Regions from separate parts of the Homo sapiens genome. Here regions 1 and 2 are each linked to region 3. Evidence: promoter capture Hi-C in 16 types of primary human blood cells and fetal thymus (Javierre and others, 2016). All regions are on one chromosome and are shown on one strand. The core of a region is centred on a gene start or on the middle of the fragment in contact, and the rest is flanking DNA. Distances in the headings are between cores, read along the strand shown. Region 1 has its middle 37 kb from the start of CHST11. Region 2 has its middle 20 kb from the start of CHST11. Region 3 holds the start of SLC41A2 (solute carrier family 41 member 2).

Region 1 (4,624 bases), core at 1,182-3,681, 540 kb before region 3:
CCGGGTTCAAGTTATTCTCCTGACTCGGCCTCCAGAATAGCTGGGATTACAGGTGTGTGCCACCACACCTGGCTGATTTTTGTATTTTTAGTAGAGATGGGGTTTCATCATGTTGGCCAGGCTGGTCTCAAACTCCTGACCTCAGATGATCTGCCTGCCTCAGCCTCCCAAAGTGCTAGGATTACAGGTGTGAGCCACCGCACCTAGCCAAGTTTTGTTTTTTACATTTAAATTCTTTTTTTTTTTTTTTGAGATGGAGTTTTGCTCTTGTTGCCCAAGTTGGAGTGCACAGTAGCACGATCTCAGCTCACTGCAACCTCCGCCTCCCGGGAGCAAGTGATTCTCTTGCCTCAGCCTCCTAAGTAGCTGAGATTACAGGCACATGCCACAGTGCCTAGCTAATTTTTTGTATTTTTAGTAGAGATGGGGTTTCATTATGTTGGCCAGGCTGGTCTAGAACTCCTGACCTCAGGTGATCCACCCACCTTAGCCTCCCAAAGTGCAGAGATTACAGGCATGAGCCACTGCACCTCGCCTTACATTTAAATTCTTAATACTAAAATAAATTATTTAAGTAAAAGAGAGCCTTTCATGGATCAATGATGGGAAGGTGTCATAAACCAAGGACTCTGTGCCCTTGAGGTTAAGAACAACAATGACAGAAAGGAATAGGAAGATAATTGGACTACTAATTCCTCTTTTAATGAAGCAGTCCTACCTCTTCACCTAGTTTGCTGAAATAAATAGTATGTTGTCTTTCTACCACAAAGCCAAGTGTTGTTCATAGTCCTCAACAGTTCAATAAATATTTATTGACTGACAAGGCAAAGGTTTGCAGGTACAAGAAGGGAAAGGTTAACAATTAGATATAACCGTTTCTAGGGACCCTGGATTTGGTCTTCCTTAAACCCTCCAGGGTAATGATTCTCTAAGTGTGGCCTTTGACTACCTGCATTAGAATCACATAAGGTACTTTATTAAAAATAAAGATTCCTGGGCTGGGCACGGTGGCTCATGCCTATAATCCCAGCACTTTGGGAGGCCAAGGCAGGTGGATCATGAGGTCAGGAGATCGAGACCATCCTGGCTAACACGGTGAAACCCCGTCTCTACTAAAAATACAAAAAGTTAGCCGGGCGTGGTGGCGGGTGCTTGTAGTCCCAGCTACTTGGGAGGCTGAGGCAGGAGAATCGCACGAACCTGGGAGGCAGGGGTTGCAGTGAGCCGAGATTGCACCACTGCACTCCAGCCCAGGCAACAGTGCAAGACTCCATCTCAAAAATAAATAAATAAATAAATAAATATTCCTGGGCCTCACCCAGGTCCATTGAATCAGGATCTTTGGAAATGCAGCCCAGGATCTGTTTTTTTTTTGCTTTAAAAATCAATTTTATTCATGTATAATTTACATGCAATAAAAGGTGTCCTTTTTAAGCTTACAGTTCTGTGAGTTTTGACAAATGTATACAACCATGTAATCACTACCGTAATCAAAACATAAAACTTTTTCCTCACCCCACGCGATCCCCTTGTATCCATTTGCAGTCAGTTTCCCTTCTAACCTCCCCACCCCAGCCCAAGATACGCGCTGATCTGCCTGCTATCACCATAGATTAGTTCACCTGTTGTAGAATTTCACATAAGTGATATCACATAGGATGCATCTTTTCATATCTGGGTTTTTTGGCATGGCCTAATGTTGTTGTGATTTATCCATACTGTTGTGTAGATTCCAAGTTTGTTCTTTCTATCGCTCAGGAGTACTCTAGCATGTACCACAGTTGGTCTATTTATTAGACATGTGGGTGTTTCCAGTTTATGACTATTATGAATAAAGTTACTATAAATGTTCACGTACAAGTCTTGGTAAAGATACGTGATTTCCAGAAATCTGTGTTTAATCAGCATCTCCAAGAGACTTGTGCATGCTGGAGTGTGATACCTGCTGCCCTAAGTGACCAGCAGGCCCTGGGTTAGAGGGAGCTCAATGCTGGACAAGAAGCACTGGACCTTTGTCCAAGAAGACAAAGGTCAAATAATTGAGTAGTTGGCTACATCCATCTACCTTATTGGGACACTGATTGTTTTATCCCCTGGAAGGGGTTTTGCTGCTTAAAAACTATTATCATTATCATGGTTTGGGGATATTGAAAATGCCAAACTATTTCTCTCATTACTTATATGTGCTTTTTCTCTCTTTTCTTTCAGATTTTAGAAGGAGCCAAAATTATTTCTTCTCTCAGAGTAGTAGAGGGAATTATGGAAAGTAATTTTTTTCCATTTTTATTGTGTTAAAATACATGTTACATAAAATTTATCATCTTAACCATTTTTAAATGTGCATTTCAGTGGTATTAAATACATTCATAGTATTGTAAAAATATCACCACCATCTAGCTCCATAACTCTTTTCATCCTGTAAAACTGAAACTCTATACTCGTTAAACAATGGAAGGTAAATTCTTATCCAGAATCTAAGGTCTTCAGTTCAGCTTCTGGATCTTTCCTCAGAAAGGCCTGTTTGGAATGGAGAGGTATGGGATGCGACAGAGCTGGGCTTGAATTTTTTGGTTGCCTCCCAGCTCTGTACCTAGCTCCTAGCTCTCTAGAAGTCAGTTCTCTCATCTGTAAAAAGGAGTGATTTGATTTCTACCTCTTGGCATTGTATTAAGAATTAGAAATAATACAAATAAACCTCCTGGCCTGTAATCCCAGCACTTTGGGAGGCCGAGGTAGATGGATCACAAGGTCAGGAGTTCGAGATCAGCCAAAATGGTGAAACCCCATCTCTACTAAAAATACAAAAATTAGCTGGGCATGGTGGCATGCACCTGTAATCCCAGCTACTCAGGAGGCTGAGGCAGGAGAATTGCTTGAACCTGGGGAGTGGAGGTTGTAGTGAGCTGAGATCACGCCATTGCACTCCAGCCTGGGTGACAGAGCAAGACTGTCTCAAAAAATAAAATACATAAATAAATAAATAATAATAAAAAAACTTCCTGCAGTGTAACAGGCCTTGATAAATAATTACCATTAACTAACATTTGTAAATGTGAAAGAAAAATAGACTCTCAGGACCCCAAACTCACCATGCCAAAGGGAAAGTTAAGCCTAGGAACTGAGTCACCAACGCTGTCTTCCTTTTGTTCTCAAACAGATAGCTGTAATTTCACAACCCCTGTCATAGCCACATTTCCTGTCCTCTCACCTTTCACATGTTTACTTTACCTTAGGTAAAATATAGATTTACTGAGCACAAGACAATGCATAAATGATTTTTTCCTCTATTCTCTTTTAGCATGTAAAATGTAGATTTATGGAGGCTAACCAGAGCCTTATAAAAATGTAACCGTCTGCCTCACTGTCTACCCTCCCTCCCTTTTTTCCCCTCCTGCTTGTTCTCTCCCCTGTAAACACTGTAGTTCCCAAAGCTTCTTTTGGGAAAAGCATAGGTCACACGTACCTTGGTGACTTGTGTGTTTTTCCCTGGTGTGTCCTCAACCTTGGCTAAATAAACCTCTAAATGATTAAGACAGCTGCCTCAGTCACTTTTTGGTTCTGTAAGTTATCTACAGTTTATAGGATAGAGGTTAGATTCACAGCTGTGTGACCCTGGAGAACTCACTTAACATCTCTGTGCTTCAGTTTCCTTATCAGTGCAAGGGAGATCATAACAGCACTTACCATAGTGGGTTGTGAGGATTAAATGAGCTGGTCCATGTAAACCACTCGAGATGGTGCATGTGCCTGGTAAGTGCTCAAATGTTAACTATTATTAATTTTATCTTCACCAGCCTTTAGGATATTGTTATTGTCCCCTAAGGCTCAGAGAAATGATGGCCTCTAAGCCATTAGGTGAGGACTCAAGCCCGGCTTTGTCTGATTCTGATCCAATAGTTGTTACACCTTTGCTTCTGGCAACATATTTGTTTACTCTCCCAATTGCCACCAGGGAAAATAATTTCATGGGCCATGATAAAAGCGTGAATGAGATAGTTGCTTTAGATTCAGGCATTTCTAGTACCCAGAAGCCTTAGGCAAATATATCTTCTGGAAATTCTACCTTCATCACCAATTCTTCCACACCTGGGAGGCAGCAGAATTTATCAGGGGCAGCCCAAGGGTTATCATTGACTTTCTCCAATTTCCTTTCCATCCACAATTTGGTTTATCACTCAGTTCATACTCTGTCCAAAAATATGTCCTGGAATCTGTCTTCTCCTTTGAACTCTTATCTGCCTAATTAGGCTTCAGGTTTCCAAGGCCCCCAAGTCCGCCTAGTCAGTGTTGATGAAAAAAGTCAAACTCTGTAAAATATTTGAAGAGATTTATTCTGAGCCAAATATGACTGACCAGTGGCTCATCACACAGTCCCAGGGGATCTTGAGAACATGTGTCCAAGGTGGTCAGTCTACAGCTTGGTTTTATGCATTTTACAGAGACGTAAGACATCAAGCAATCAATACGCATAAGATCAGTCTGGAAAAGGGGGGCAACTCTGGGGGGAGTGGGCTTCCAGGTCATAGACAGATTCAAGAATTTTCTAGTTGGCAATTGGTTGAAAGAGTTATTATCTAAAGACCTAGAATCAGTGGAAGGGAATGTCTGGGTTAAGATAAGGGGT
Region 2 (4,365 bases), core at 1,398-3,897, 520 kb before region 3:
AGAGATGTGATTTCTCCATGTAACCCAGGCTGGTCTCAAACTCCTGTGCTCAAGTAATCTACCTGCCTCGGCCTCACAAAGTGCTGGGATTACAGGCTTGAGCCACTGTGCCTGGACTGCACCACATTTTATTTATCCATTCTGGAGTTGACAGAGGATTTTTTTTTTTCCTCCTGGTTTGGGTAGCTCCACTTTTTACCATTTTACTATTATTTTATGTCTGTGTGCAGCTCACAGTCAAAAGTGCTGGATTCATGTCCTGGATACTCTACTTACCAGCTCTGTGAACCTTGGGAAAACTAGCCTTTCTGAGTCTCATTTGTCTCTGCAAACAATAATGCCTAATTTCCCTTGGTTTCCTATTCAATCAGCAAGCGTTTATTGGTCACCTGCTATGTGCCATCATTCTAGGAGATTTAGCAGTGACCGACACAAAGATCCCTGCTCCACACGTTTGTACCTTTGTCCCTTCAGTTCCCTTTCTTTGGGAAGCTCTTTCTTCCCAGATCCATCCTTCTTCTTCCTTACTCCCACCCACATTTTTGCTTCTTTATTTTCTGCTCATCCTTCTAGACTGAAGTCTGACATCCTTTCCTTTCCTCTAGGAAGCCTTACATGGCCCCTGGCAGAGCACTGGCCACTGTTTACTGAAATGTTGGGGGCTTGGTCTGCACACCTGTCTCCCCCGTGATCTGTGAGCTTCCTCAGGGCAAGGGCTGATTTCCTGCACCTTTGGCATCTGCAGTGCCTATCCCAGGGTTAAGCTCAGGGTAAAGTCTTAGTACAAGTTAAGAACTTTTGTTTTAGCCAAATAAGCCAGTGTGATGGCCACTCAGGTCATACCTGCTGAGTTAGCACATCAAGACGGTAGTCCTGCCCCTGAAACCAGAACTTATTCCAGGTGGTTTTCAGGGGGTTCAGCCACATTACGGGGGTGATTAGGTATAAGGAGCCCTGGAGTTCTTCGGGCCAAAAAACTTGCTCTCTCCAAGCCTCTATTTTGTCAGTTAAATGGCTACCTTTTCAAGGTTATCTGGGAGACTTAGAGAAAGTATACTCGAAGTGCCTGGCGTCTAAGAATAACGATTTCATTGACTGAAAGCTTATTATATATTCAGCTTAAAAGGCACTTTACATATTTTAACTAATTTAATCAACACAACAGCCTGTGATGAAGGAGCTGTCACTATTTGTGTCAACTTACAAATGTGGAAACTGAGGCACTGAGTGTTTAAGGGACTTGCCTAATGCTACACTGACACAGCCAGTAAGTGGTAGAACTAGGAAGGAGACTGGTCTTGACTGCTACAGCCCACCTTGCCCAGGAGCTGCAGCCGCCACCCAGAGACCCAGCTCAGAAACTTCCAGACAGCATGGTAGCACAAAAGGCTGCAAAAACCTTCCTGATCTTTCTCTTCCCCTTTCCTTTAGGGCCAGTTCAGGCAGTGAAGTCGGAGCTTCCTTTGAAGTCTTCTCCCTCCTCTCCTGATGAGGCCTCAGGGAAAATGAGTCCTTTCCTTATCTCAGCAGCAAAGAAATTGTCCAAAGACAGCAGTAGCATCTCCGTGGGAAGCTCAGGAATACTAATGATAAAACAAATTGATAAATTCAATTTCAAATGTGTTGATGAGAAAAACTAATTGATAAGCTCATTCATTTATTTAACAAGTATTTATGGAGTACCAACTCTATGCCAGTGTGGAGAATTAACTCTAAACAAAACAGCTGAGGTCCCTGGCCTGATGAAGCTTATGTTCTTGAGTTGGGATGTTACCAGAGGCGAATCTGTAGGGGTCTGCAGCAACCTCAGTTCTTGCCTCTTTAGAAGAAAGAATTTGACCAAGGGGCAGACAGTAAAAGGAGAGACTGAGGCAAGTTTTAGAGCAGGAGTGAAAGTTTATTGAAAAGCTTTGCTGGCCGGGCGCGGTTGCTCACACCTGCAATCCCAGCACTTTGGAAGGCTGAGGCAGGCGGATCACCTGAGGTCAGGAGTTCAAGACCAGCCTGGCCAAAATGGTGAAACCCTGTCTCTACCAAAAATACAAAAATTAGCTGGGCGTGGTGGCATGCACCTGTAATCCCAGCCACTTGGGAGGCTGAGAGGCAGGAGAATCGCTTGAACCCGGGAGGCAGAGGTTGCAGTGAGCCGAGATCATGCCCGTGCACTCCAGCCTGGGCGACAGAGTGAGACTCTGTCTCAAAAAAAAAAAAAAAAAAAAAAAAAAAAAAAAAAAAAAAAAGCTTCACTGCAGAAACAAAAGGAAGGAAAGTATACTTGGAAGAGGATTAAGTGGGTGACTTAAAAGACAAGTTTGACCTTTCGACTTGGGGTTTTATATGTGGGCATGCTTCTGGGGTCTTACGTCTCTTCTTTCCTGATTCTCCCCTTGGGATGGGCTGTCCTGTCCGCATGAGCAGTGGCTGCCAGTGCTTGGGAGTGGAGCATGCGCAGTGTGTTTACTGGAGTTGTACCCATGCTCACTCGAGACGTTCTTCCCTTACCAGCCCAATGTCCCTTAGGAGGTCATATTCCAGTTAAACTCCACCACTTTACCTCTTAGGGCACATGTGTGAGCCCACTCACCCAACTGCTAAGATCTTACCAGGAAGCTACTGATCACCAGTTTCAGGTTTTTCCCTTTGATAGGACGACTGCGTTTCCCTGGCACTGGCTGGACCAATTATTATTTTAGAGAGACAGTTAAGAACCACCTGACCATCACCTGATGGTCCCCTGACATTCCTGGTGGTGGGTGGGGGGCCTTTCCTGCCCTGTTCATGTCTGACTAGCTACCTACTGTAACAGTATAAATATCTTTTTGACACTTTCATTTACAGGAAAGAAAATGCAAGAATGCTTGGAAAAAAAAAGACCCAAATACCAAAATTTGGACAAACTAAACAAGTAAAAGAAGAAGTGGCAGAAAGAAAACTTAGACTTCTTGAAATAATTAATGAAAGGATGTTTTGAAATAGCAAGTTTGTCCAGTATAGGTATAATGAAATTTGATTTACCAAAATTCCATTTTTTTCCAAGAATTTGTGGTATAACATGAAGCTTACCTTTCACAGCCAAGGCAAGGTCATCCCCCCCTTGGAGGACATGGTGCTGCTGATGACTCTTGAGACATCTCAACCTACAGTGGCTTCAAAACTTATGCCTTCAGCTCTGCCTCCTCCCCACTCCCAAGCTTCAAACTCAAATATTCAGCTGCCTGCCTGTCTATAGATCCTCTTGGATGTATAATAGCATCTCAGCTCCAGCATAACCAAAAGATAACTCTTGATTTTCACCCAAATCTTGTTTTTGGTTTTTTTCCCCTTAGTCTTTACCACTTCCTTAAATGGCAACACCTATTCAATTGCTCAAGCCAAAAACTTAGGTGGCACCCATATTCTTTATTGTGGCTATCAATAGCAAAGGCAGCTATTGTTTAATTGAGGGTAACAGAGACCCAAAATAACTGTGACTTAAAAAAATAGAAATCTACTTTGCTTATTTCTTCCTCTGGTAGAGAGGGAGGTAGGTAGTCCAGACTTCCTAGTGTATCTAAACTCCATGAACTCCTCGGGGATGCAGGCACCTTTCAGGTCATTGTTCCACCATCCCTGGATGTGATCTACCTCTTCATGACACAATACGACAGCAAAAGCACCAGTCATTGCATCATGGGTCCAAGTGGCAGGACCCCTGTAGGAAGGAGGCATGGAAAAGAAGGGGCAGAGAGCATATACTAGCTATCTTTTAAGCAAGGTAATTTTGCTAAGACTTCACTGGCAGAACTTAGTCACATGACTACATCACCTAACTATAAGAGAGGCTGGGAGATGTAGTTTTTATTGTAGGAAGTCATGTGCTTAGCTAAAACTTGGAAGTTTTATTGCTATGAAAGAATAGACCAGATATTGGGGTTAGTAGGAATGGCCAAAAGTTCCTGCCGTATCTGGGTTGTAAACTCTAGGCTACTGGGCCCCTGCCTGCTATTTGACCCCACCTCCTCGACCATGTTCAACACAATGTAGCCATTCTGGCCTCTTCTAATGTCCTTTGAATACACCAGGCTTATCCCTGCCTTAGAGCCTTTGTGCTGCCACTCTCTGCCCCTGAGATGCACCCTCCAGATTTGCACATGGCTGACTTCTCATTATTCCAGTTTTGGCCCAAATGTCAGATCCTTACTGGGCCTTCCCTTGACCACCCTTTCTAAGGCAGTGTTTCTGCACCAGCCAGCTTCGATCACATAACCCCATTTCATTTTCCTCAAAGTACTCCAGAGTAACTCTCTGAAAACATCTTCCACTTTGTGTGTGTGTATGTGTCTCCCTGTTCCAGTGAGTAGCTAGTCAGACATGAGCAGGGCAGGA
Region 3 (4,951 bases), core at 156-2,655:
TAAAAAATAACCAGTAAAAAAGTAACAAGCCTTGGGGAAGATGTGAAGAAATCGGAACCCTCATACACTGCTTAGTGGGAAAGTAAAATGGTACAGCTGCTTTGCTTGGCAGTTCCTCAAAAAGTGAAACACGGAGCAATTGCCCTCCTAGGTATATACCCAAGAGCACTGAAAACACATGTCCACAAAAACGTGTAAACAAATGTGCATAGCAGCATTACACACAATGGCCAAAAACTGGAAACAACCCAAATGTACATCAACTGATGAATAAACAAATGTGGTACACTGATACAACAATATTAATATGCTATAAAAAGTAAAGTACTGATACATACTACATGAGTGAAACTTGAAAACATTACAGTATGTCTTTCGACGCCAGACACAAAAAGCCACATATTGTACGCTTCCATTTATATGAGATTTCCACAACAGGCAAACCCATATAAACAGAAAGTAGATTAGTGGTGGCTAGTGGGGTGGGGTCAAGGGGAAATGAGGAGTGATTACTAAGAGAGACAGGGTTTCTTTTGGGGATGATGATCTGGATAGTGGTCATATTTGGAAAACTCTGTGAATATATTAAAAGCCACACTTTAGAAGAATGAGTTTTATGGCATGTGATGTATATCTCAATTTAAAAATTGTCACTACAAAAAAAAGATGACATATATACGTAATATACACATCAATGTATATCGGTAACACATAGATATGTGTCATCTCTCTCTGTAAATGAGCATTTGGGCTTTTAAATTTGAGATATGCTCCGTGTATATAAAGAGAAGAATGAAAGAAAAGGGTGACGGGGCACTCGCGGAGCCCTGAACAGGCATCTGGGGTGTGCCCGAGCCAGCCTCGCAGCATCTCCATCCCAGCTCACCTTCAGCCATCACTCATACACCACCCGCCGCCTGTCCCTGCCTTGGGCGCCCGGGACCGCTTGTCCGCGGTGGCCGCGGAACAGCTTCCCTCAGCCCGAGGTGGGGCAGGCGCGGGGGCCTGGGCTCGGGCGCTGCCCGGCGGCCCGGAGAGGCGTCCGCAGGGGGCACGGCTGCTCGGGCGGGGCCGCTCCCTCTGCTCCCCGCGCCCCCGCCGCCGGGTCCCGAGCCCAGGCCTCTCGGCCCCACCTCCCTCCCGCACCTGATGCGCCCGAACGCGGCGCCGCGGCCGAAGCCGAGACTTCCCCTCCATGGTCACCTGTTCCGGAGCGCGGCGGCGGCAGCGGCCGGTGTGAGAAGGGTCCCCGTCTCCTCAGACCAGACCGAGACACCAGGGGCGGGGGATGGAAGGGGCATTCACCTGGTGCCCGGCACCGGTGGTGGCGGGGAGGACAGCGGCTCCCAGCCCACAGCTCCTTCCTGCTCCCGCGCCTCCTCGCGCGGCTGCGGCCCCAAGCTGACAGCCCGGCCGTCGGCGCCCGCGGCCCCCTGACTCCCCGCCGCCCCGCCCCCGCGCGGCAGCCCCGCGCAAGCGCAGCCGCGCCGCCGCCGGGGAAGCCCGGGCCTTGGTGATGTGGCCCGCGGGGCGGCGACCCGGAGCGACAGCACCGCCCCGCCCGGACCCCGGCCGCGCCCTGGCAGACAGCTGTCGGGAACGGGGGCGCTGGATGACGGCAAGGGGGCAGTTTTCTGGGGAGCCTGCCCAGGAGAGAAGGGCTGTGGCCTCCTTCGGCATCCCTCTTCCCCACCAGCCCACGCACGCCCACTTCACCGCCTGCTCCAAGGTCCGAACCCCCGAATCCATGACTCATGATTTCTCTTCTCAGACCAGCGGCCTCTTTTTGGCTGAGGTCATGTTTCTTGCAGACTGGAGTTAAAACCGAACCACGTGTCTTTCGGCCCAGCAGCGCATAGTGTGGGCGGTGCAGGAGCCGAGACGGGCAGGAACCACCGCAGGAGGGGGTGAGGTTTAGGGCAGCCCCATAGCACCCTCCCCGTGCCAGGCAGGTGTAGGCGCCAAGCGCATGGGGCGCTGAAGAGTTGGCTGGGGTGCCAGGCTTTTCAAGTTTCCCCACACTTGCTTTTAAACCTAGATCAAACTGATCCAAAGTCTGCATGTAAATCCGAGAGCTCATTTATTTTATTTACAAAACTATTGAGCATCTACTGTGTATGATTCAGGGAATGAGACACACCCCAGGGATACTCCAGTGAACAAAAGAAAGGTGTTGGTCCGAAGACAGTTATTTTAAAAATTACACAGCTAATGCCATAATGCCAGGATTGGTGGCTCATGCGTGTAACCTCAACACTTCGGGAGGACCAGGCGAGAGGATCGCTTGAGGCCAGGAATTTGAGACCAGCCTGGGCAAACACAGCGAGACCTGGAGTGGCTAGGAGACTGAGGTGGGAGGATCGCCTGAGCCCAGGAGTTCAAGGCTGCAGCGGGCTATGATCGCATCACTGCACTCCAGTCTGGGCCACAAAATGAGACCTTGTCTCTAAAACAACAACTCAAAATTACACAGCTAATGATACTCTTTTCCTCAAATCAAAGCTTCTACCAATTCCAAGCCACACCAGTGATTTAGTAGCAGCTTTTCTGGTGCTGAAGGACACCAGCATACATTTATCCATGTTCTTTTTTTTTTTCCTTATGCTTTGCGATCAGACTTTGAGCTTTAACCTTAACCTTCAGGGTGAAGGGTGCTTCGGTATCACTCTTGGCCATCTGCAGTCATGCTTTTTATAATGACTCATCCTGGTGTTCCTCACCACCTAAAAATGAAAGTATAATTGCAAGGAATATGGAAAAGCAGTGTTTTGACTGCATTTCCAGCTGGTTTTTGTTCTGGTTGTTTTTTGAATTACAGATCATTAGAAAGTAGCTGCTCTTGAAAGTTTGGCAGAAGTTCCACCCAATATGTGTTCCTCCCCTGAGTGTGTAGTCTTTCAAGATTTCTACACAAAGCATATACAGAAGCCAGCCTGTCTTGGTTTTGAAAATTCTTCCACCATTTTTTTCTGAGAGAGCTGGTGGTTTCTACCGTCCTTCAGAGCATTACATGGCATGTGGCAGGCAACCTTCTACTTACATTCTTCATTCAGTACCGCAAAGTAGTGTGTACTTTGGAGATATGTTAAGCTTCAAGTTGGAATCCAAATTTAAATCAAATTTCAGCCCTGAAAATAACTCACATTGGAATCGGGCGAGGAAATGCCCCCTTGTAAAAAACTGGGTCCTAATGGGTGCAGACAACAACAATCCCATTTCTACTTCATCTCCCGTCTGACAGCTGGCAACTTCAAATGTGAAGCAAGTGGCTTGGACTTGAGGCTGTGTGGTGATGCTGTTGTGATTGCTGGAAAAAAGCCTGAGAGTTATGAGAGTGTATAACAAAGGAGCGTGTCTGTGCTAGGGGGTAAGAAAGATCTCCTGGAGGAAGTGACATTTAATCTCAGCCTTGAAGAATAAGGAGGAGTTAGGGCAGGCAACATAGAGAAGGGGGTGGGGTGGGCAGTGCATTTAGCTGTGGAAACTGCAGGTTTGAAGGCCCTTTGGTAGGAAGAGGCTCTGTCTGTGAAGGCTTTGGGAAAAGGCCACTGTGCTTAGACTGAGAGAGCTACCTGGGAGGGAGAGGTGGGCGGGCCCTTGAGGGTCAGGTTAAGGACTTTGGATTTAATCCTAAAGACAAAAGAAGCCAATGAAGAGTTGAAAAGGTCCTATCTGGACATGAAAAATTGCATTTGTAAAAGATGATCCTGGATGCAGTGGCTCACACCTGTAATCCCAGCACATTGGGAGGCTGAGGTGGGAGGATCACTAGAGGCCAGGAGTTTGAGACCAGCCTGGGCAACATTGCAAGACCCCCATCTCTACAAAAATAAAATAAAATTAGCCAGGCTTGGTGGCACGCACCTGACTGAGCCCAGGAGCTCGAGGCTGCAGTGAGCTATGATCGTGCCTCTGCATTCCAGCTTGGGCAGCAGAGTGTGAGACATTGTCTCTTAAAAAAAAAAAAAAAAAAAAAAAAAAGAGATTATTCCGGCTGCAGAGTGGAGAATTAATAAGAAGGGTGCAACAGAGGATGTGTGACAACCAGTTTGCAGGCAATGGAGATTAGGAGATGATGGTGGATTGAAGATATAGGTCAGGGTTAGAACTGTAAGGATTTGATCAAATGCATGGAAGGTAAAGGCGAAAAAGTGTCAAAAAATGACTCCCAAGTTTCTAATTTGAGTTTATGCCATTTCCTGATTTGGGAAATGTGGAGGAGGAGATCAGAAGGGGACAATTTTGAGTTGCTTTATATATGTTGAGTTTGATACCCCTATGAGACATTCAAATGAAGATACTGACTCTATGTTTGAAAAACTGCAACTCAGAGTAGAGATCTGGATTGAGGTGAATCAAAACTAAATTTTAGGAGAGCACATAATATGAACTGTTCATAAGATTTAACCTCTAAACTTCAGAGAAAACCTGAGCAGGCCAGGTGTGGTGGCTCATGCCTGTAATCGAGCACTTTGGGAAGCTGAGTCAGGTGGATCACTCGAGGTCAGGAGTTGGAGATCAGCCTGGCCAACATGGTGAAACCCTATCTCTACTAAAAATACAAAAATTAGCCAGGTGTGGTGGCGTGAACCTGTAGTCTCGGCTACTCAGGAGGCTGAGGTATGAGAATCACTTGAACCTGGGAGGTGGAGGTTGCAGTGAGCCAAGATTGCGCCACTGCACTCCAGCCTGGGCATCAGAGCTAGCCTCCATCTCAAAAACAAAAACAAAAACCTGAGCAGAAGCAAAGGGAATCTAATATTTACTATGTGTGAGACACTTCGCACAGATGATTTTCTTTAATCTTGACACTCTATAAAATGATGTTATAATCCCATTTTACATACGAGGAAACTGAGGGTTAAATCCTTGCTCAAAGTTACTCAAATTCCCAAGACCTACCTCAGACCCATTAAATAAGAATCTCTATGGATATTTCTGGTGATCACTG

The links. The method cuts DNA at HindIII sites, captures the fragments that hold promoters and counts their contacts. A CHiCAGO score of 5 or more calls a contact.
Region 1: a fragment that was not itself captured here is called in contact with the fragment with the promoter of SLC41A2 in region 3 in 4 of 17 cell types (total B cells, total CD8 T cells, activated CD4 T cells and 1 more); the score reaches 5.2 in total B cells.
Region 2: a contact is called between a fragment that was not itself captured here and the fragment with the promoter of SLC41A2 in region 3, in 10 of 17 cell types (total B cells, naive B cells, non-activated CD4 T cells and 7 more). The highest score is 10.1, in total B cells.

What each region holds. Positions count from the first base shown.
Region 1 is chr12:104,417,907-104,422,530 of GRCh38, forward strand. No RefSeq gene overlaps it. Among named protein-coding and RNA genes, the nearest start is that of CHST11, 37 kb to the right of the region's middle. The HindIII fragment of the contact is 1,996 bases long and covers 1,434-3,429 here.
Region 2 is chr12:104,434,532-104,438,896 of GRCh38, forward strand. No RefSeq gene overlaps it. Among named protein-coding and RNA genes, the nearest start is that of CHST11, 20 kb to the right of the region's middle. RefSeq lists an enhancer at 1,630-1,799. The HindIII fragment of the contact is 817 bases long and covers 2,240-3,056 here.
Region 3 is chr12:104,956,885-104,961,835 of GRCh38, forward strand. SLC41A2 (solute carrier family 41 member 2) reads right to left here and starts at 1,406. Exons shown (of 11, transcript NM_001352171.3): 1 at 1,204-1,406. RefSeq lists silencers at 795-1,124, 1,315-1,584. The HindIII fragment of the contact is 5,296 bases long and covers 1-2,500 here.